Linked DNA regions of Homo sapiens: regions 2, 3, 4, 5, 6 and 7 are each linked to region 1. The links are contacts of gene promoters, found by promoter capture Hi-C in blood cells and fetal thymus (Javierre and others, 2016). All regions are on one chromosome and are shown on one strand. The core of a region is centred on a gene start or on the middle of the fragment in contact, and the rest is flanking DNA. Distances in the headings are between cores, read along the strand shown.

Region 1 (2,815 bases), core at 101-2,600:
CTTCGCGAGGGTCTGTCCGGTCACCGCGCCTCGGCCGGGGCGACCTAAGGCGGCTGAAGGAGGGTGCGAGAAGGCGCGGCGACCTCAGCCGCATCCACGTGTGCGCGCCGCGCAGGGACCTTTCGCCTGGGGGCAGAGCCCGCGGGGATCGCGTCCCGGTTGCGCGGCAGCGGCCTTGGGTGCTGCCGGCCTCTGTCCCCTTGAGCCGAGTGGCGACTGCGACGGCTGCCGAGCTAGCCCTGGCACCCGCCGCTCGCAGGGAGCCCCGGCGTGTGCTGCTGGGAAAGTCCAGAGGCCGGTGGAGACTGGGGAACGAGCAACTGACAGTTCGGACGAGGATTTCCCTCCTCCTCCTCCTCTCCCTCTTCCCATCTGTCCGGCCAAAAATGTGAAGGGACTGCACCCATCTTCCCGGCGAGCCTCCCTAAGTGCAGTGACATGTGCGACGGCGGCGCGTGTGGGTGCGCGTGCAATGTTTGCAGTGGAAGTAAAAGCCTTTCAGAGAAAAATGATTCGAACCTCCAAAACCAGGTCTTAAGACAATTTGCAAAAGTAGAGACCCCTTTATCCCCCTAAAATCTGCTTTTCAGCCGCCTGTCAGCTGACACTGGTCCTCGCCTCCATAAAGAATGAATGAAATTTAAATGAACTACCTGCAGCTACTAAACAATCCAGCATTTTCCCTGTATCTGCCATATGCTCTGCACTTCCAAGTCCAAACATATCTCAATGCATCCAGCAATTACGCTGCGGATCCCTCGCCGACACCCGCGGCATCAAGCCAGGCACCTGGTGGGCTCCCCGGGGCTGGTGGGCACCGCTCTGCCCTCGGCTGGAACGTGCTTTCTTTTTCCCCCTAAAGAAAAATGTATCCCCATGCAACTTGCAAAATGAGCCGCAGGGCGTGCTTCCCAACGTCCGGATACATTTCCCGCAAAGACTCTTCCATTCATCAGTCTCTGGAGCGGCTTCTGCTGCCGAGGCAGGGGCTCCAGGTCCTCGGAGGGTCTGACAGCCCCTCAGATGATCCCGGAACGAATTCCCACCTGCTCCCGGGAGCCTGGCGCCCCGCGCGCCCCCGCGCGCCCCCGCCCTCGGCCGCCCGCCCGGCTCCCCGTTACCTGTGCCGGGGTCTTCGGGCCATGGCGCGGCGGGCGCGGGGCTCCGCCGAGAGCCGCGGGGACCGCACCGGGCTGCCGCCTCCCGCTGCCCGCCGCCTGCCTGCGTCCCTCCCCGGCTGCGCAGCGGCGCTCCGCACCGCTGGGGCGAAGTTTCTCAGGAGAAAGAGGAGGAGGAGGTCACGGAGGAGGAGGAGAAGGAGGAGGAGGAAACAGGTTGATATTAAAGTGTAAACTCTGTAAACAGAGATGCCATCAAACAAAGAGCTTTGGACACTCCCCCTCCCGCCAAATCTGGCGCCCCTGCAGTGCGCACGCGCCCTGCCCGCCGCCTCCGCGGTCGCCCTGGCTGCCGCCCGCGGGGCTGCCGGGCTGGCCGGGTCGCCGCTCCCATTCGGCGCTCGCGCCGCCGCGGTGCGCCTAGCGCGCCGCGAGGCCCGGGAGGCGCGCGGGCAGGGAGCCCGGGGCCAGGGAGGGGTGGCCGGGGGCCGCGACGGCGCCTTTTCCTGAGCAAACCCCGCTCCCGGGTCGCGGCGGCGCCGACCCGCGCCCAGTCCCGCCGCCTCCCCTCCTCCCTGGCTGCCGCACCGCGGTCGCCCGGCTCCGCGTGCTCCCGGGCAGCGGGACCAGAGCTCCTCCAGCTCCCACTCACTGTCGCGGGGGCGGCAAGCGGTGGGGGGAAATTCCCGCACAGAAGATTGGATTTTCGTCAAGGTTTACAACTGTGCCCTCTGGAGACGGGGAAATTAGGAGTTGGAGGAGTAGGGGATGTGAGCATATGTATTCATAGGCTGTTTGGCTAGGGTTTTTTTTCCTTCTTCTTAAATAAATAACATCTCTAATTTAACTTGTTAGTGACAAAGGACGCTTCAATACAAGTGGGCGGCAACCATCACCGCTCACTAATGGAGCGCCCCAGCGGAGCTTTCACTCCCCTCCCGGATCCTGCAGCCGCCACCGTCGTATTGTCACATGTCCTTCACTCTCACCCCAGCACACACCCGGGCCCCACCCACCCCGCCCCGCCCGGCCCAGGCGGTGCCCACCGCACACCTTTGCTCCCCTCCCTGCACAGAGCGCGCACCCTGGATTGCACACCTGCAAAAAAAAAAAAAAAAAAAAAAAAAAAAAAAAAATACACGGGGGTCCAGACAGCCCGCCCCTAGCAGAACTCAGGAAACCCCACGTTTGCATGCATGGTTTTAGAAGTAAAACAGTTTGTGATTTTGGAGGTCGGTATCCCTGCTTAGTGTCATTTGAGGGCTCTATTTTACGAGATAAAAGTCAGCAAAGGCTTTCGTGTTGTTTAATGAGGGTCTCCAGAAGTAAAGGAAGAAGATAAGTGCTGAATTTATAAGGATTGATGACTGGGGGGATTTTAGGGGAGTTTTAGTTTTACTTCCGTTTATAGATTAGAACCATTGGGGATTTTTTTTTCATTCTCTGTACACACTAATGTATTTTTCCTTTAATCTTTTAGGAGTTTGAGACTTCTGCTGACTGGGTTTGTGGGTGTCCCATGTGCCCCAGCAGTTCAAACTTAGCTCAGAAAGCATTTTTTCTTACTAAAAAAGCATGTTCTTACTAAAATGAGTCATAATTTTATTAAACGGTGAAGCATGCGAGGTTTCAAGACTATCTGGTGTTTTAGACTTTCTTTAAAATTGTTATATAGTTTAAATCTTTATCAAGTGTTA
Region 2 (2,815 bases), core at 105-2,604, 1.1 Mb before region 1:
TCACTGCAAACTCTGCCTCCCGGGTTCAAGTGGTTCTTCTGCCTCAGCCTCCCGAGTAGCTGGGACTACAGGCATGCGCCACCACATCTGGCTAATTTTTGTATTTTTAGTAGAGACAGGATTTCACCATATTGGCCAGGCTGGTTTCCAACTCCTCACCTTGTGATCTGCCCGCCTTGGCCTCCCAAAGTGCTGGGATTACAGGCATGAGCCACCATGCCTGGCCTAACAGTAATGATTTTTTAAAAATCGGTGATTTTTATTTATTACAAAGTCATAAGTACTGGTAATACTTCTGTGGTTTTGCCTACATTCATAATTAAGGGAAATGATAAATTTCAGTTTGAAGTTAACAAGGATGTAATTTTTATTTATTTTTTTTTTTTTGAGACAGAGTCTCTTTCTGTTGCCCAGGCTGGCGTGCAGTGGCACGATCTCGGCTCACTGCAACCTCTGCCTCCTGGGTTCAAGTGATTCTCCTGCCTCAGCCTCCCGAGTAGTTGGGATTACAGGTGCCTGCCACCATTTCTGGCTATTTTTTAAATATTTTTAGTAGAGATGGAGTTTCACCATGTTGACCAGGCTGGTCTCAAATTCCTGACCTCAGGTAATCCGCCCGCCTTGTCCTGCCAAAGTGCGGGGATTGCAGGCGTGAGCCACCACGCCCGGCCCCAACAGGGATGTAATTTTTCCCATACAAATATAGCGACATCTCTGGGAGGTTGGGAGAGGTGTGAGGGATACAAGACTACATACTGGGTACAGTGTACACTGCTTGGGTGATGGGTGCACTAAAATCTCAGAATTCACCATTGAAGAATTCATCCATGTAACCAAAAACCACCGGTACCCAAAAAACTATTGAATTAAAAACAACAACAACAACAACAACAAATTATAGTGACAGGTCTGAATTCTATCCACGGATTCTTTGGGAATTGGTAGACCCCTGAGTTCTATCCATGGAGTCACAAGATGGCTTAGGGCCCTGAATCACTGCATGGAGAAAATACTTACCAACCTAATTCAACTGTCTTGGACTGTTTGAGAAAAAGCTTCTATTGCATGTAAGTCATTATGTATTCCGGAGTCTATTTGTTACCACAGCCTAGTTTATACTATCTTTGCCAATGTACATTTGCTAATTACTGTATTATTACTACTGTCTTCACTTTGTCCTTCAACATACATTTTTGAGTAAAATGTCAATTTCCCTTTGTGTTAAATTTCATATATGTATCTATTATTATAGAGCATCTCATACCACTAGCAAGTAATAAATTGTATTGAATATGTATCAAAGACATATGGAGACTAAATTATATTTTTCCAGGGACTTTTACTCTTTTTTTCTTCCAATTTTCAGTTTTATGCACCAGATGGTTGTCAGCTGGATCACTATGAATAAATTATAAATGGCCAATAACAATAAATATTTGTATAGTTCCTGCTCCTGAGCAATTTTTAAGCATGTGAATGAATTTGTTTTCAAACAGTAAGCATCTCATCATGGAGTGAATAGATCATCTCACATGCCATTGACAGAAATATCTCCCTGGAATATATAACAAAGAATGAATGTGTTTAGGAAAAGCTACTGGATGGGCTTGTGTGGGTAGAAATTAACCTCATTACAGTACAAAGTTAAGCTTAATAATGTAGATTAAAAAATAATGGCACAAATACTAGAAACACAAAGTCAGGTCTGTGCTTTCACTATACTCTCTAAAATGGAACTTAAGAAATCAGCCAGTGGTGCTTTTAACATAATTAGCCAGACCCTAATATGACAAATAGAACTTTGAAAAATAACTGTCTTGCAAAGGATTAAGCCATTTTTAGATCTATCTATCACAGTTGGTTGGAATTCAGTGTAAAGTTTCCTTTTAAATGGAAGCAAACAATTTTATATATGTTTTTCTCTTGTTGAACCAAGTACTCCCCTTCATTGCTCGACAGAAGATTCATGAAGCTAAAAGAGGACTATAGAGCACTCTAGGAAAAAAAAACCCCAAAATCCCACAAAAACAAATCTAAAAGATTCTCTCTGGAAGCAAATATTCTCCTAGCAGCAGTTTATAATTAGGCTTATCAAGATTGTGATTTAGTAATGGATATTTTATTATGTATATATGTATGTTTGTATTTTTTAGAGGTAGGTTCTCTCTCTGTCACCCAGGTTGGAGTACAGTGGCTCACACAGTTCAAATTCTGGGTGTAAGTAATCCTCCCTCTTCGGCTTCCTAAAGTGATGGGATTACAGGCATGAGACACCATACCCATCCTTATTCTTCTTGTTTATTAAATGAGAGCTTTTACGCTTGATTTGGAAGAACCACACACACACACACACACACACACACACACACACAAACTTGCTGGGCGAGGTGGCTCACGCTTGTAATCCCAGCACTTTGGGAGGCCGAGGTTGGCAAATCACCTGAGGTCAGGAATTTGAGAACAGCCCGGCCAACATGGTGAAACCCCGTCTCTACTAAAAATACAAAAATTTGCCAGGCGTGGTGGTGCATGCCTGTAATTCCAGCTACTTGGGGGGCAGAGGCAGGAGAATTGCTTGAACCTGGGAGGTGGAGGTTGCAGTGAGCTGAGATCGTGCCACTGCACTCCAGCCTGGGCAACAGAGCGAGACTCTGTCTCAAAAAACAAAAACAAGACCTCTCAGTTTTTAGGTCTTCATTATCTTACACAATTCAAATAAAATTCAATGGTCTACATTTTTAAAAGTTTTTTGATATTAATATTATGAAAGTAATTTTTATTGTAGAAATTTTAGAAAATACAGAAGAGCAAAGGA
Region 3 (2,815 bases), core at 209-2,708, 1.1 Mb before region 1:
GTGCATTGCAGTGTCAAACTCCTGGGCTCAAGTGATCCTTCTGCATCAGCCTCCCAAGTAGCTGGGACTACAGGCTTGTGCTACCTTGCCCCGCTACCAAGATGGCATTATGTTAGCTACGTTGGAATTTTCTGATGGAACGACATATCATATGTTTTTTAAGGCTCAAATTACTAAAATTAGAATTCAAGTAGTTAAAAAGATGCTGTCAGTTTCATGATACGCTACTGCATTGTGGTTTACAAAAAAGTTGAATTTTAAGCTTTTACGGTTAAAAGTTTCCTATTTCCTGAATTAGTTTTTCCTTCCCTGAAATTGTAAGTGCGTTTATTAGAGTTTATGGCAGTGCCCATTATATGCATTGTAAATAATGGTTATTTAATTTAACATAAATCACAATAATGGTTTTTTTGTCTTTGCTAGGAATTCGAATTTAGAGTTTAATTTCTCAGAGCATTCTCTCCAGGAAGAATTTTTACAGTATCTCAAAGACTTCACTTGACTTCTTGATCCTGCATAAAACCAAGGTAAAAGAGCATTCATTTTTCTAGTTTTCACTTTTGACTTTTTTGAGGAAATGTCACTACTGAATTGATGATTCAGATGGAGTGATTAAAAATGATGTGGTCCGAAGCTTTGTTTTTTGTTTATTTTGGTGGCTTGTATGAAGTAAGTCAGATGTTAAGTTAGTTTTAGGAAAAAGGTTCTTTTTCTGTCTTCTTCCAGGTTGTGCTCCTGCTTTTTCTATTTCTATAAACACATCTACTAAAAGACTCAGGACATACAAGATAGAAAGACTGCTACTTAACCCATTTCCCTAATGTAAACAAGAGGAGATTCATAACTTGTTTCTCTCTACTGTAGTGTTTAGGTAATTCAAATTGATTGCTAATGTGTTAGATGTATTAAGTGAATTAAGTTCATCAACTCATTAAGTCCACTACAAGTCTGTGAAGTAGGTACTGTTATTTTCTTCGTTTTACAGTTGAGGAACAGGCTCAGAGAGCTTAAGGAATTTGAATTCATGTAGTTTAAATGCAGAGACCATGTTCTTAGCTTTTTCCCTGTTTTTGCAGTAGAGCAGAAGATATCAATCCATTTCTTTTGGACTGCTAACTATTTGATAGGCATGCTTTCTTTCCGTTAGTTTTTGAAGTTTCAGGTGTAGCTTAAAGCAAAACGCAAACCTTTAAAAATGAACTTGCTGCTTTAAAAAATGTCCAGGTTCTGGGGAATGCATTCATTTTATAGTTATTTATTAAATACCTGTTGTGCTCGTGTGCCACAAGCCCAGCTACATCCTGGTGACTGAAAAAGCCTACAGAATTCCTGAATCCTTTAACAGAAATTACCATCCAAAAAGCCTCAAGAGCAAAGAACAGAGATTCTGGAGATACAGCACAACACAGCATCTGTAGCTCTTAGTAAAATAGTGTTTTATTTACTGATTAGTACAATGAAAAAGGATGTTGTCTTATTGCTGGACTGGATCTCCAAAATCATTTGCAGCTCTGGTTTCTTTTTATAGTGTGTCTGATTATCTCAGAGTGGGATAAAAATAAATATCTTGAAGTAAATTCGATCAGAATGAATGTAAATTACGTATTTATATTCTTTTAAAAACTTTGGGAGGGACAGAATTTTGAAATCAGATGCAAGAGAATGTCACAGTTCCCCGTGGCCAAGATTCCTTCCTTTACAGGCTGTAAATGTGGTTTTTGCCAATTTCATTATGTTGTCAAAACTACAGTTGCTAAACCAAATTTGTGTTCTACAAGGTGTCAGATCTCCTTATGTTAATGCTAAATTTATTTCTTATGTGTTGTGGAATTCTTACTTTGCCTTTTTGAACCCTGAACCTATGTTTTGTTTCTGTCTTTATGTATTTCTTGCTTACTTGGGATTGAGAAGAAGAGTGAGAGAAGACAAAGGTGGTAGTCTATTAGAGGATAGTTATGTTTTATTTTGAAATAAGCATTTATCTCAAACATCTTGAATTTGTTATTTATATTGCTTGATGAGGAACTATCCAAGTATTACCATTACTTCTTCTATAACTGAACTCATCTTAGTACCTCCAAATACTATTTTATTATACCGAACAAAGTCTAGGTAGGTAAAAAAGTGCCTTCAAAAATACTTGGTTGTAGGAGATACTATTTAAGTATTATGGGAATTGCAAGGTGTTAGAAGTTTAGTAAGTTGATTTTTATTGAAATGAATACTTTTTGAGTAAGTTAGTGTAAATTTGGAAATAGTTCTATGCAGCAAAAACAAGCTTGAGAGGCTAAGATATAATCTAATCATTGAAAAGTTGAAAATGTGACATTTGGGATATGCATGCAGTGATTTGCTATATGTGTATGTTTTTTCAATTAGTAGATCTTATAAATCAATTAGTTTTGACAGTTACTGATTTCTGTACCCAATGAGGTCTAATTATAGCATTGGATACCATGTAGTGTTTAGAAAAGTTAAACTACTGGTGCCCAAGTTTTTTTTTTCTTGTAGTTCTAATAAATCTTTCTTGAAGTAATCCCTCCAATTCTTTATCTTTTATTCTTTTTAAATCTTCTTAACAGAAAGCTTCAGGGTGAACTAGGCATTGTCACATAAGTCCACTTTATTCTGGAGTCATGAGTACTGAGAGCAGAGCCATGGCTCCAGCTGTTTAGAAACTTAGTGTCCTGTATTGTTCTAGGATACTATCTAGTACCACTCCAGACAGGATTGTGTATATGGAGTGGTCAGTTCAGTCTCATTTTCAAGGCCATAAAGCACTATGATAACAGCCTGGTAGGTTTATTTTTTGTTA
Region 4 (2,815 bases), core at 92-2,591, 1.1 Mb before region 1:
ATCTAAATCTGTAGGAAAGAAGCTCCTTTCAAAAGATTAAGTTCTGTTCTGAACAGGTTGAATTTGAAGTGCCTGGGAGAAATGGAGCTGTCCAGTGGATAGTTGGTAATTCAGATTTAGAGAAACAAAAAAATCTAAGTGCTCTAATTTTATAGGTCACCATTAAAGCTGTGTTAAGATCACAGAAGAGACGAGATAAAGACCAACATTTCAAAGGTGGGGTGAAAAGTGAGAGAGAGTAAAAATGCCAGAGAAGTAGACCAGGTATGATAGATAGGTCAGAAGGTTAAGAGGGAATGAGGGGTGAACAAATAGATAGTAATTGTTTAACACTTTTAACAATTTACAAATATTAAATTTAGGCCGTTTTTCTATGGCATTCTCTTGAGTCTGCTAACCCTTAACAAGTACATACTCATTTTGGGTTGGCGTTTACTTAGGCAGTAGTTTCATTAAGAACTGTCTTATTTTAAGAATTTAGCCACTTATAAGTAGCAGTAATATTTTTACATGTTGCTTTTCTGGGTTATATTTAAAAATCTTGGTCTCTATAAAACATAAACATTGATTTGCCACAGACTGATGATGCTCACTAGAATATCAAGCAAAATTACACACTTTTTCCTTATAAATTAGTTCCCAAAGTTAATTATTTTGGTTTTTACTTATGAGCCATTGAAATGGCAACTTTGGTTTTCACATGAATAGTTAAATTTAAAAGATTTTGTATCTTATATGTAAAGGAATGTTGAGGGAAAAGAAGGAAAAATATGATTCAGAAGAAAAGTCTAGAACTAGACATTCATTCCCTTAGGTTCTTTCAGAACAATTAACCAGTTTAAAAGAGTTTGCACATTTGGATGAAACATTAATACTTAGTAACTAACAGGCCAGGCACGGTGGCTCACACCTGTAATCCCAGCACTTTGGGAGGCTGAGACAGGTGGATCATGAGGTCAGGAGTTCAAGAACAGCCTGGCCAACATGTTGAAACCCTGTCTCTACAAAAAAAACGAAAATTAGCTGAGCGTGGTGGTGCGTGCCTGTAGTCCCAACTACTCGGGAGGCTGAGGCAGGAGAATCGCTTGAACCCAAGTGGTGGAGGTTGCAGTGAGCCAAGGTTGCGCCATTATACTCCAGCCTGTGTGACAGAGTGAGAATCTGTCTCAAACAAACAAAAAAGCTTAGTAATAATAGATAACATTTGTTAAGCATCATGTACTATGCTAGGTGCTGTTCTGAGTGTTCTGTATGTATGAATACTTAAAAAAGGCTTTTGAGTTGGGGCCATTATTCTATTTTTGTGGATGGAAAAAACTGAGGTACAAAGGTGGAGTAGCTTAAGCAGAGTTATGTGGCTAGTGCAATGGGGTCAGGATTTATGCATTGGGCTCCAGAGTCAGGGTTCTGAAAGTCTTGTTTGTACTATTTGTTGTCCAATACTGAGTTATAGTAATCTTTGTTGCATTCTTTTTGAATTTTCCTATCTCTAAGCTTTGTTTTATGCAAAGGTGTGGTAATGTTTTCAATAATAAAAATTCCAGGAAAGATACTAGTTTTAGTTAGAACCTGAAATTCTATGGAGGGGTGAGTGTGAAGAGTTGGAGCAAGTGGGAAAGTACTGAAGTAGGCAGATTCTCAGTGTTGAGTTGCTGTCTTCAAAGGAAGAGAAAATCGTTGGTGGGGAAGGGGGTTCAGGATTGGAGTTTTGGTTATTATTCCTTTGAAACGTGATCCTTGTATGGAGAAGAGAAGATGATTCAGAAGGTCTTGGTTTCTAATACAGACTCCTTTGTTAACATGTTCTTAGCTGTGTATAAATATCTAACTTCTGGCCCTTTTAAATCTGAGATAATTAAAAATTAAACATTTTAATAATGAGACTGAAATCTTCGATATAAAACTTGAGTATTAAGAATATGTTTAGCATCAAAAATCTCAATTAAGTAGCTGCCAGGATGCCCTACGAAAGGCACAGTTTAATTGTTTAGGTGCTGTTGTGTTTACCAAGTTTCAGATGATTGTATATTAAAAGCAATGGCTAGTTTAACCCTAGTGTCTAGCTTTGCTCTTGGCTTTTCTATTTCTGCTAACTCTTAGCTACCTGGTGTGGTAATCATATACTGCCACCAAGATATCTGGGAAATGTGTTTTATGGGTGATGGTCACAAGGGGTAGAAGAAAGGGCTAGCTCTGTGACCTTGGGCAAGTTACTTAATTTCTCAGTGCCTCAGTTTGTTTATTTCTAAAGTGAGGGCAGTAATACTATCTTAGAGGGTTGTTGTGAGGATTAGTTGAATAAATACATGTGAAGTGTTCAGAACAGGGCCAGATCCATATTACACACTATAGAAACATCATTTTTGCCACCATTTATTGAGTGCTTGCTTGTCAGACACTGGGCCGGGCACTTCCTGCTGATCTGTGTTCCCTCAAGGCACACATTATTAAAATGAAGTGAATTCTAGAGAGGTTGCCCAAAGTCACACAGTTTCTGATAAGATTTAAACCCATGCTTCTACTCCAAAACCTCTTCCCAGAATCCATGGTGTATTGTGTAAAAATCATAAAAAAACACAGCCTCTGGAGTTGGGTATGTTAATGTGATAAGGGAGCATGAAATTATGTAGTGGAGTGGGCATTATTTTTAGTGGCAGACTATTTTAAAGTAGTTTATTTTGGGTTTGTAATAAACTCTGCCGTATTTAAATTTACACTTTTGATAGTTCCAAAATTCATTCATTATAGAGTCATGTACACCTCTACCTAGTAATCTTTCAGTGGTTTGGTAAAGATAGATTATTAGCAGTTGGTA
Region 5 (2,815 bases), core at 84-2,583, 1.1 Mb before region 1:
AGTAAGTTGAAGAATCATAGTACCATTATTATAAATGGGCATCTTAGTATGAGAAACTAGTTTGAATATGGAGATGAGGTGAGTCAGAGGTGATGTTAGAACATATAAGTAGAAATATCCTTCAGACAATTGGATATATATATGGTTTTAGTATGTAGGAAAGAAAAAGATTCAGTTTTGGGAGTTATCTGCTTTGTTTTGATATTTAAAGCCATGGACTTCGATAATGGCAAATGTCATTAGATGTGATTGAAACATTCTAAATATCAGTAATCGAGAGACTGAAGATAACAGCTGAACATTTGTTTATCACTATTAGGTTATTGGTGACCTTAAGAATTTCTGTAAGTGGAGAATGGGACTGTGTTGGAGTAGTTTGAAGAATATCAGGAAGGGAGGTGGGATCAGCAACCTTCTTTTGAAAAGTTTGCTTGTGAAAAGAAATTGAGAGAGGCCATCAGCCTGAAGGGGCCGCAGGATGGAATTTTTCTTTTTCTTTTAAAGTTAGAAGTAACTTCAGCATATTTGTCATCACTCTGGAAGAAACAGACAGGAAGAAATTTAAGATCCACATGAGAGAGGATTGAGCACCGCCTTTGAGAAGGTAGTTGGGCAAGGGATCTAATTAAATAAGTCTTGGAAAGGAGAGAGACTGTCCTGCCTTAAAGAACAGAATGAAAGTGAGAGAGAGTGAAAAGAGATTTTTTTTTTTTTTAAGATGGAGTCTTGCTCTGTTGCCCAGGCTGGAGTGCAGTGGTGCAATCTTGGCTCACTGCAACCTCTGCTCCGAGGTTCAAGTGATTCTCCTGCCCCAGCCTCCCGCGTAGCTGGGATTACAGGAGCCTGCCACCAATGCCCAACTGATTTTTATATTTTTAGTAGAGATGGGGTTTTACCACGTTGGCCAGGCTGGTCTTGAATTCCTAACCTCAAGTGATCCACCTGCCTTGGCCTTCCGAAGTGCTGGGATTACAGGCGTGAGCCCCTGCGCCTGGCCTGAAAAGAGATTTTGAATGGAGCTAAGTAAGAGAAGTGAAGTTGAGGTATGTCAAGTTGAAGTTCTCGGTTTTCTCAGTAAGAGCAGAGACAAGGTCACTTGCAGGTAATGAAGTGGTGGGATTTGAGAAGGGATTTCAGAGATTGGAGACTGCTCTGGGCAATGTGGTATAGAATGTAACATGTTATGAAGGGATTTCAGAATACCTGTGAGAACCCAGCTGAAGTCATCATGGAATTGTAGTTTTTCTAAATATTGTCGTTTTGTGATTTTTTTTTCCTAGCTAAGAGTAATTACAGTAGTGTATTCATTAGCAGTGTGGGAGCACATAATATCAAAAGAATGAACCATTTTTGAGTGGCATTGAACATATTACTGAAATAATTAACCAGAAAATCCATGCTTGGTAGGAAAATTAGTAAAGTCAAAATGTGGGTACTAGACCAGGAATAGAGGGAAGATGAAATAATAAGAATGGTGAAGATGGCCAGATGTGGTGGGTCGCCCCTGTAATCCCAACACTGTGGGAGGCTGAGGCAGGCATATCACTTGAGCTCAGGTTTTCAAGACCAGCTTGGGCAACATGATGAAACCTCGTCTCTATAAAAAATATAAAAATTAACCAGGCATGGTTGTGTGCACCTGTGGTCCCAGCTACTCCAGAGGCTGAGGTAGGAGGATTGCTTGAGCCTGGGAGGTGGAGGTTGCAGTGAACCCTGATCATGCCCTGCACTCCAGCCTGGGTGACAGAGTGAGACCCCATCTCAAAAAAAAAACCTCAAAAAGCAAACAACAACAACAACGAAAATGGTGAAGATGGCCAGGGGCAATGAAGGAATGAGAGGAAGGACAAGAGTTTATTAGGATGGAAACTGCCGAGCAAGATAGGAAGGTATCATTTAAATTAACTAAGAACTAACCCAACTCTTGGGTGACTGTATATGTCATAGGTAGCCGTCATGGTAGCAAAGCCTCTATGCCTGTTGTTCTTAGCAGGGGTACGCAGATGAATGGTCTGTAGAACACTTTAAATATAAATGCTCAATCCTCCAAATATTCTACTAGTAATAGGTCTGGGATCTATATCCTCTAGGCTGTGCAATCCAGTATGATAGCCACTGGCCACATGTCACTTTTAAGTACTCAAAATATCTGAATTGAGATCTTCTATAGGTGTAACCTATATAAGGGATTTTGAAGACTGAGTGTGAAAAAAATGTAAAATAATCTTAGCAATTTAAAAATATTATCGGTTGAGCATCACTCAAAACCTGAAATCTGAAATGCTCCAAAATCCCAAATGTCTTGAGTGCCAGCATGACACCACAATGGGAAAATTTTACACCTGACCTCACATGATGGGTCACAATCAAAACGCAGGTGCACAACCCACAGTTTATTTAGCCTGCTGTTGTTAGTTGTTGCTGTTGTTTAACAGCTGAGACCGGCGGTTTATTGGTTGTTTTAATGAGGATGCTAATAGGTGGCTACCTATATCAGTTGGGATCTTAGGAAAAATGTCCAATTTATTATATCACATCTTTTGGCTGGTGGGGGAGAGTGGTTCCTGTGGCAATGGTTTACACTAATTTGGGAAGCCCACACTAAAGGATGAAGTATTATTTGAGCTATAGTAGCACATTATTACTTCTAATGCCTTTTCAAGAGCTGACTGCCAGCAGATATATTTCACTTTATGTAAATAACTCTGAATTGTCTAGGACCTGATTTATTTATTCCCTTTTTTATTTCTCCTTTAAAGGAAATTACATAAGTATACTCCATATTACGTCGTTGCTTGATAATTTGAAATTGTCT
Region 6 (2,815 bases), core at 156-2,655, 1.0 Mb after region 1:
GTAAAGGTGGGGTTGCACCATGTTGCCCAGGCTGGTCTTGAACTCCTGGCCTCAAACAATCCTCCTGCCTCAGCCTCCCAAAGTGCTGGGATTACAAGCATGAGCCACCATGCCCGGCCTAGAAAATTTATATCTATAGCATAAAAATACTTTAATGTGATTTTTCACTACCAGTCTTTAATCATATAGATAACATGCAAACATATTTTTCTTATAGAAAATTAGGATCACAAGTAAAGCTAAATTCCCTTTGATCATATCTCTAATCTAGTTTCTTTTCCCTCAAAGTAACAAATGGTTATCAATTTTTTGTTAATGTTGGTTGCAGTGGCTCATGCTTGTAATCCCAGCATTTAGGGAGGCAGAGGCAGGAGGACTGCTTGAGTCCAGGAGTTTAAGAGCTGCCTGGACAATATAAGGAGACCTGATTCTCCACAAAAAGGAAAAACAAAAACAAAAAAAGTGTAATTTTTTGTTTATGCTTTCAGATATTTTTCTAAGCACTGCATCTATTTATGTAGAGTCAAAAAATACATAGTATTATTTCATGTAAATTTTCCACATAAATATTATTATAGCATGTATACCAATTTGCTTTTTACTTCACAATGTGACATGAAGCTTACTTTTTACAATTTCAGTATAGACAATCACATAGGTGTCTTAGTTTGTTTTGCACTGCTATAACAGAATACCACAGACGGGGTAATTTACAAAGAAAATTGATATATATCTTATAGTTCTAGCAGCTGGAAAGTCCAAGAGTATGCTAACGGCTTTCTGGTTATATTATAACATGATGGGAGGCATTGCACAGTAAGACAGAACATGTGTGTCAGCTCAGCTCCCTCTTCTTCTTTTCTTTTTTTTTTTTTTTTTTTTTTTTGAGACGGAGTCTCGCTCTGTCGCCCAGGCTGGAGTACAATGGTGCAATCTCAGCTCACTGCAACCTCCACCTCCCGATTCTCCTGCCTCAGTCAAGCGATTCTCCTGCCTCAGTCTCCCAAGTAGCTGGGATTACGGGTGCATGCCACCACACCTGACTAATTTTTGTATTTTAGTAGAGACGGGGTTTCGCCACATTGGCCAGACTGGTCTCAAATTCCTGACCTCAGGTGATCCACCAGCCTCAGCCTCCCAGAGTGCTGGGATTATAGGCATGAGCCACCACGCCTGGCCCCTCTTCCTCTTTTCATAAAGCCATCAGTCCCATCATGGGACCCCCACTCTGATGACCTTAACTAATCTAATCCTGATTACCTCCTAAAGGCCCTACCTCTAACCAACATATGAATATTGGAATCAAGTTTTCAATACTTGAAATTTGAGGGACCCATTCAACCATAGGGACCCATTCAAACCATAGCAGTAAGAAATATGTCACTGTGTTTTAGCTAAACACTGATTTATAGACATTTAAGCTGTTACATTTTTCTCTATTATAAACATTGCTGCAAAGGACATCGTTGTACACGGGTGTTCCTCTGTTTCTCTGAGGTGAAGGTTAGAGAGGGAACTGCTAAGTCGTAAGGTATGAATATTCAAAATGTTAATAGTAATAATAATGGTAGTTAATAGTTACTGAGGAAATACTACCTACTTGTGATTCTAAGTGCTTTACATTCACAAACTCTATCAGGAGAGTATTTTATCTTAGACCATTTTACAGATGAGAATACTGAGACACAGTGAGGGTGAGTACCTCACTCCGGGTCACATAACTAGCAACTGGCAGAGCCAGTATTTAGGCCCCAAGCAATTCTAAGACTCGGCTCTTTCTTATCCACAACACTACTGCCTATAGTCCTCATTCTCTTCTAACTGATTCATATTTGCTACTTACAAGGGGAAATCTACTTACTTGGGGGCTAATCAATCTTACAAAATTGTATGTGCGTTTTTAAAATTTTTAGTTTGAAAAGTTGTTTTCATACTAATGATTGATCATAGCCTGGCCTTAGCAGAACAATTCATATAGCTTGGCAAAAGAAGACAAATTGTTCTATTGTCACCCATGTGAAATAGAATGAGGTAAAAATATGAAAACTTCAAAAACTTTTCAGAGAAGGGAACCCAAGGCCAGTTGGGCTCTGAGCAAGTCTTTTCTCACTAGAGAGCTTGATCCCCAGTCTTTAAAACCAGGTACTTAATCTATAATATCTGCTCAAACCCATTTTTAATCAAGCTTTTCTGCTTATCCTCTGGGCAGTCCTTGGAAAACTGAAAGAGAGAAGAATCTTCTTTGTATGGCTGTTGTGTGCACCATTCTGATTTATTTTATTTAACATTTTTGAAACAATCTCAAACTTAAAGGAAAGTTGCAAGTCAGTACCAAAAATTTTTTTTCGGAATTACTTGAGAGCGAGTGACTGGCATGTTGGCCCATCTCCACCAAATACTTTAGTGTACATTTCCTACAAACAAACCAATTCTCCTTCATAACCATGATAGAACATCAAAATCAGAAAATTAATGCCAATACATTACTATCATCTAATCTTAAGACCTCAAGCAAGTTTTGCCATTTGTCCCTATGTCTTTTTTTTTTTTTTTGAGACGGTGTCTCACTCTGTCACCAGGCTTGAGTGCAGTGGCGCAATCTCGGCTCACTGCAACCTCTGCCTCCCGGGTTCAAGTGATTCTCCTGCTTCAGCCTCCTGAGTAGCTGGGACTACAAGCACGCACCACCACGCCCAGCTAATTTTTGTATTTTTAGTAGAGACTGGGTTTCACCATGTTGGCTAGGATGGTCTCTCGATCTCTTGACCTTGTGATCCACCCACCTCAGCCTCCCAAAGTGCTGGGATTACAGGTG
Region 7 (2,815 bases), core at 103-2,602, 1.0 Mb after region 1:
GCAATCTAATTATAGATAACTCAGATGGGCCAGTCACGAGTTACAAAGCTTTTTTTTATGTTTTGAAGGTAGAATTCTGGTTTACTGGATTATAGTCCATCACTTCACATAGAAGATCTGAATTGTGTTTCTCCAGAATTGAAAGGTGCCAGAGGAGACCCAAACATTGTCACCCAGATGGGAGATAAGATCAAGCACAAGTGGGTGGGAAGAGAACAAGGCAAGAACAGGGAAGTCAAGAAAGAACAAGAGATCAATAAACAAATGACAAATATTTACTAAGCACTGTACTGTCAAATAATGTGTGTGCAGAGGTATCTTTTACCTAAGGGAGTGGGGCATATCCCTGCCAGCACATTCCCTGAGCCCCAGCCAGCCTGCCTTTGAGCACGACAATTGATTGGAAAAGGGATAATTGTCTTCTCCATAGCTCTCCAGCTGTAGGTCTACTCAAATATGGGTTTGGGGGAACCAATTCAGCTAAGATTCTCATAAGCTAAAATGTGTCTAAAACCACTGCTACCAAAAAGAATAAGTCAGTCACTGCCCTTACAGAATTTGCCATCCACCTGGGGAGACAGGCACCTACCCTTAACATGTGACAGGCAGTGAACAAGGGGTAAAGGGAACTTCAGACGTCCAGCGGCTCTCTGCGGGGTCGGGTGCCTAGAGCAGGCTTCATAGACGGGAAGCTCTAAGATTCTTCCTAACCAATTCTAGGAACTCTAATAGGATACAGGCCCTGAGGACCGGATTATAATCGTAATAGCTAATTCTACTGAGCTCTTATTATGTGTCAGACAATGTTCTAAGTTTGTTTTTTTTGTTTGTTTGTTTTTGAGACACGATCTCTATTGTCTGGGCTGGAGAAAAGTGGTACAATCATGGCTCACTGCAGCCTCAACCTCCTGGACTCAGGTGATCCTCCCACCTCAGCCAACCAAGTAAACAACGTTTTGTTTCTTAATAAGTCTTTTTCGGAGACGTGGTTTCACCATGATGCCCAGGCTGGTCCTGAGCTCCCTAAGTGCTAGGATTACAGGCATGAGCCACCATACCTGGCTGTTCTAAGTATTCTGTAGTCAAGCTGTTTACTCTTCATAACAATGCTGTGATGTCAAAAGTGAAGAAACTCGTACAGAACGGTCATTAGCTGGTCAGTAAGTGGTGAGATCGAAAGTCAAATCATGTCAATCTGGCCCAAAAGCCTATGCTTGTAGCCATTACTTTATCCGGCCTCAGAGGTGACAGAAGAGTATAAAAGCAAACAGCTGTGTACTTGTTAGTCATCCATTTATTAATTCACCAGACTTTTACAAAGATACCTTCTAGATGTCATGCTAGGCAAAAAGAGGGGGATGGAGAGGGAGAGGGAGAGAGAGGGAAAATTTGTAATTACAGACACTATCAGTGACTGATGAAGATAAGAAGCAGCTGCAAAAATATACATTGCAGTGGGAGTATAACTTGGTGCACCATTTTGGAAAACTGCTTGGCAGTATCTACTAAAGATGAAGATATCTATAACTTGTGGCCCAATCGTTCTCTTCCACAGTATAGACCCCAAAGACTGCACACATATGCAATACAAAATTTGCAATAGTGTTCCCAGTAATACTATTTATGACAGCCCCAAAATGGGAACCATTCAAAATGTCCACCTATAGGAAAATGAATAAAGAATTTAGTGTGGTTTCATATACTGAAATACTACCCAATGAAAATGAGTGAATAATTGCTATATACAACAAGGAATAGATCTCATAAACAAAACCCAGACTGTATGATTTGATTTATATAAAATGTAAAAGCAGGCAAACAGCATGAATTGATTTGGAAGTTAAGATGTGATCACCTTTGGGGAGGAAGGCAGAGCTCATAGTTGAGAGGGTGCATAAGGAAGACATCCTACCAGGTGCTGTTAATTTCTTGATCTGATCTTGAGCTTGATCTTGATTTCATCAAGCTATACACTTATGATACATGCATTTTTCTCTGTATGTGTTATATAACAAAAATGTGCATTATAAATATGTGGTATGATGAAAACAGGTGTTTGCGTACATAGGAGTGACACCTTACTCAACTTGGGGGGCAGGAAATGGGAGTACATTTTTAGGTAGTTTAGGAAAAAGGTGCTTAGGGAGATCTGGAGAATCCAGGTAGGCTGTCTTGGAGAACTGGATCTTGAAAATGAGGCAGAAAGGCCATTCCACATTCAGGCTTGTAGTGGGGGCCGGACTTGCATAAGGATAATGAATGGGACAGTGGCAATAGAAAGGGACCAGACAGACCTAGGGCAGAATCTCAGCTCTATTGACCAGCTTTCTTTCTTTTCTTTGAGACGGGATTTTTCAGTAGAGGCAGGGTTTCGCCATATTGGCCAGGCTGGTCTCAAACTCCTGACCTCAGGTGATCCACCCGCCTCAGCCTCCCAAAGTGCTGAGATTACAGGCATGAACTACCGTGCCCGGCTGAAAAAATTTTAAGTAGGGAGATGGACCATGTCTTTCATGTTCTTAATAATCCCACGGGGGAGACGTTTAGCTTTCATCAGATAGCAAAGGAAGCATTTGAAGGTTTTCCATGAGGAAAGTGAAGTGATTCAGAGTGTTTTACTGGCTATCACTAAGAGGTGTGAGAGCGAGAAAGCTTTGAAATTAATATAAAAGCCCCTTAGGAGACTTCTGACAGTCATCCCAGTGGTGGTGGTGAGTAAAGGACAGAGGAGATGTTTCCACGTTCCCACGTCAATGAGACTTAGTGAGTTACGATGGTGGAAGACGGATGAATGCAAAGCAAAGCACATTTCATG

What was found. The method cuts DNA at HindIII sites, captures the fragments that hold promoters and counts their contacts. A CHiCAGO score of 5 or more calls a contact.
Region 2: a fragment that was not itself captured here is called in contact with the fragment with the promoter of MYB in region 1 in 1 of 17 cell types (fetal thymus); the score reaches 6.1 in fetal thymus.
Region 3: a fragment that was not itself captured here is called in contact with the fragment with the promoter of MYB in region 1 in 2 of 17 cell types (fetal thymus and monocytes); the score reaches 15.5 in fetal thymus.
Region 4: a contact is called between a fragment that was not itself captured here and the fragment with the promoter of MYB in region 1, in 1 of 17 cell types (fetal thymus). The highest score is 7.3, in fetal thymus.
Region 5: a contact is called between a fragment that was not itself captured here and the fragment with the promoter of MYB in region 1, in 1 of 17 cell types (fetal thymus). The highest score is 5.6, in fetal thymus.
Region 6: a contact is called between a fragment that was not itself captured here and the fragment with the promoter of MYB in region 1, in 1 of 17 cell types (total CD8 T cells). The highest score is 5.5, in total CD8 T cells.
Region 7: a contact is called between a fragment that was not itself captured here and the fragment with the promoter of MYB in region 1, in 1 of 17 cell types (fetal thymus). The highest score is 5.5, in fetal thymus.

The regions. Positions count from the first base shown.
Region 1 is chr6:135,179,843-135,182,657 of GRCh38, reverse strand. It overlaps MYB (MYB proto-oncogene, transcription factor), which reads right to left and starts at 1,350. Exons shown (of 16, transcript NM_001130173.2): 1 at 1,122-1,350. The coding sequence starts at 1,144. RefSeq lists silencers at 103-182, 1,232-1,281, 1,342-1,561, 1,632-1,681, 2,122-2,231. The HindIII fragment of the contact is 5,797 bases long and covers 1-2,815 here.
Region 2 is chr6:136,297,980-136,300,794 of GRCh38, reverse strand. All of the region lies in intron 2 of LOC124901408 (a long non-coding RNA gene), which reads right to left. Among named protein-coding and RNA genes, the nearest start is that of BCLAF1, 9.5 kb to the right of the region's middle. The HindIII fragment of the contact is 594 bases long and covers 1,058-1,651 here.
Region 3 is chr6:136,280,296-136,283,110 of GRCh38, reverse strand. BCLAF1 (BCL2 associated transcription factor 1) reads left to right here. Exons shown (of 13, transcript NM_014739.3): 2 at 424-527. Among named protein-coding and RNA genes, the nearest start is that of BCLAF1, 8.1 kb to the left of the region's middle. The HindIII fragment of the contact is 1,644 bases long and covers 637-2,280 here.
Region 4 is chr6:136,262,578-136,265,392 of GRCh38, reverse strand. The region is part of intron 11 of BCLAF1 (BCL2 associated transcription factor 1); the gene reads left to right. Among named protein-coding and RNA genes, the nearest start is that of MTFR2, 14 kb to the right of the region's middle. The HindIII fragment of the contact is 311 bases long and covers 1,186-1,496 here.
Region 5 is chr6:136,245,250-136,248,064 of GRCh38, reverse strand. The region is part of intron 2 of MTFR2 (mitochondrial fission regulator 2); the gene reads left to right. Among named protein-coding and RNA genes, the nearest start is that of MTFR2, 3.7 kb to the left of the region's middle. The HindIII fragment of the contact is 5,491 bases long and covers 1-2,815 here.
Region 6 is chr6:134,142,204-134,145,018 of GRCh38, reverse strand. No RefSeq gene overlaps it. Among named protein-coding and RNA genes, the nearest start is that of SLC2A12, 91 kb to the right of the region's middle. The HindIII fragment of the contact is 1,564 bases long and covers 624-2,187 here.
Region 7 is chr6:134,164,396-134,167,210 of GRCh38, reverse strand. No RefSeq gene overlaps it. Among named protein-coding and RNA genes, the nearest start is that of SLC2A12, 110 kb to the right of the region's middle. The HindIII fragment of the contact is 2,604 bases long and covers 51-2,654 here.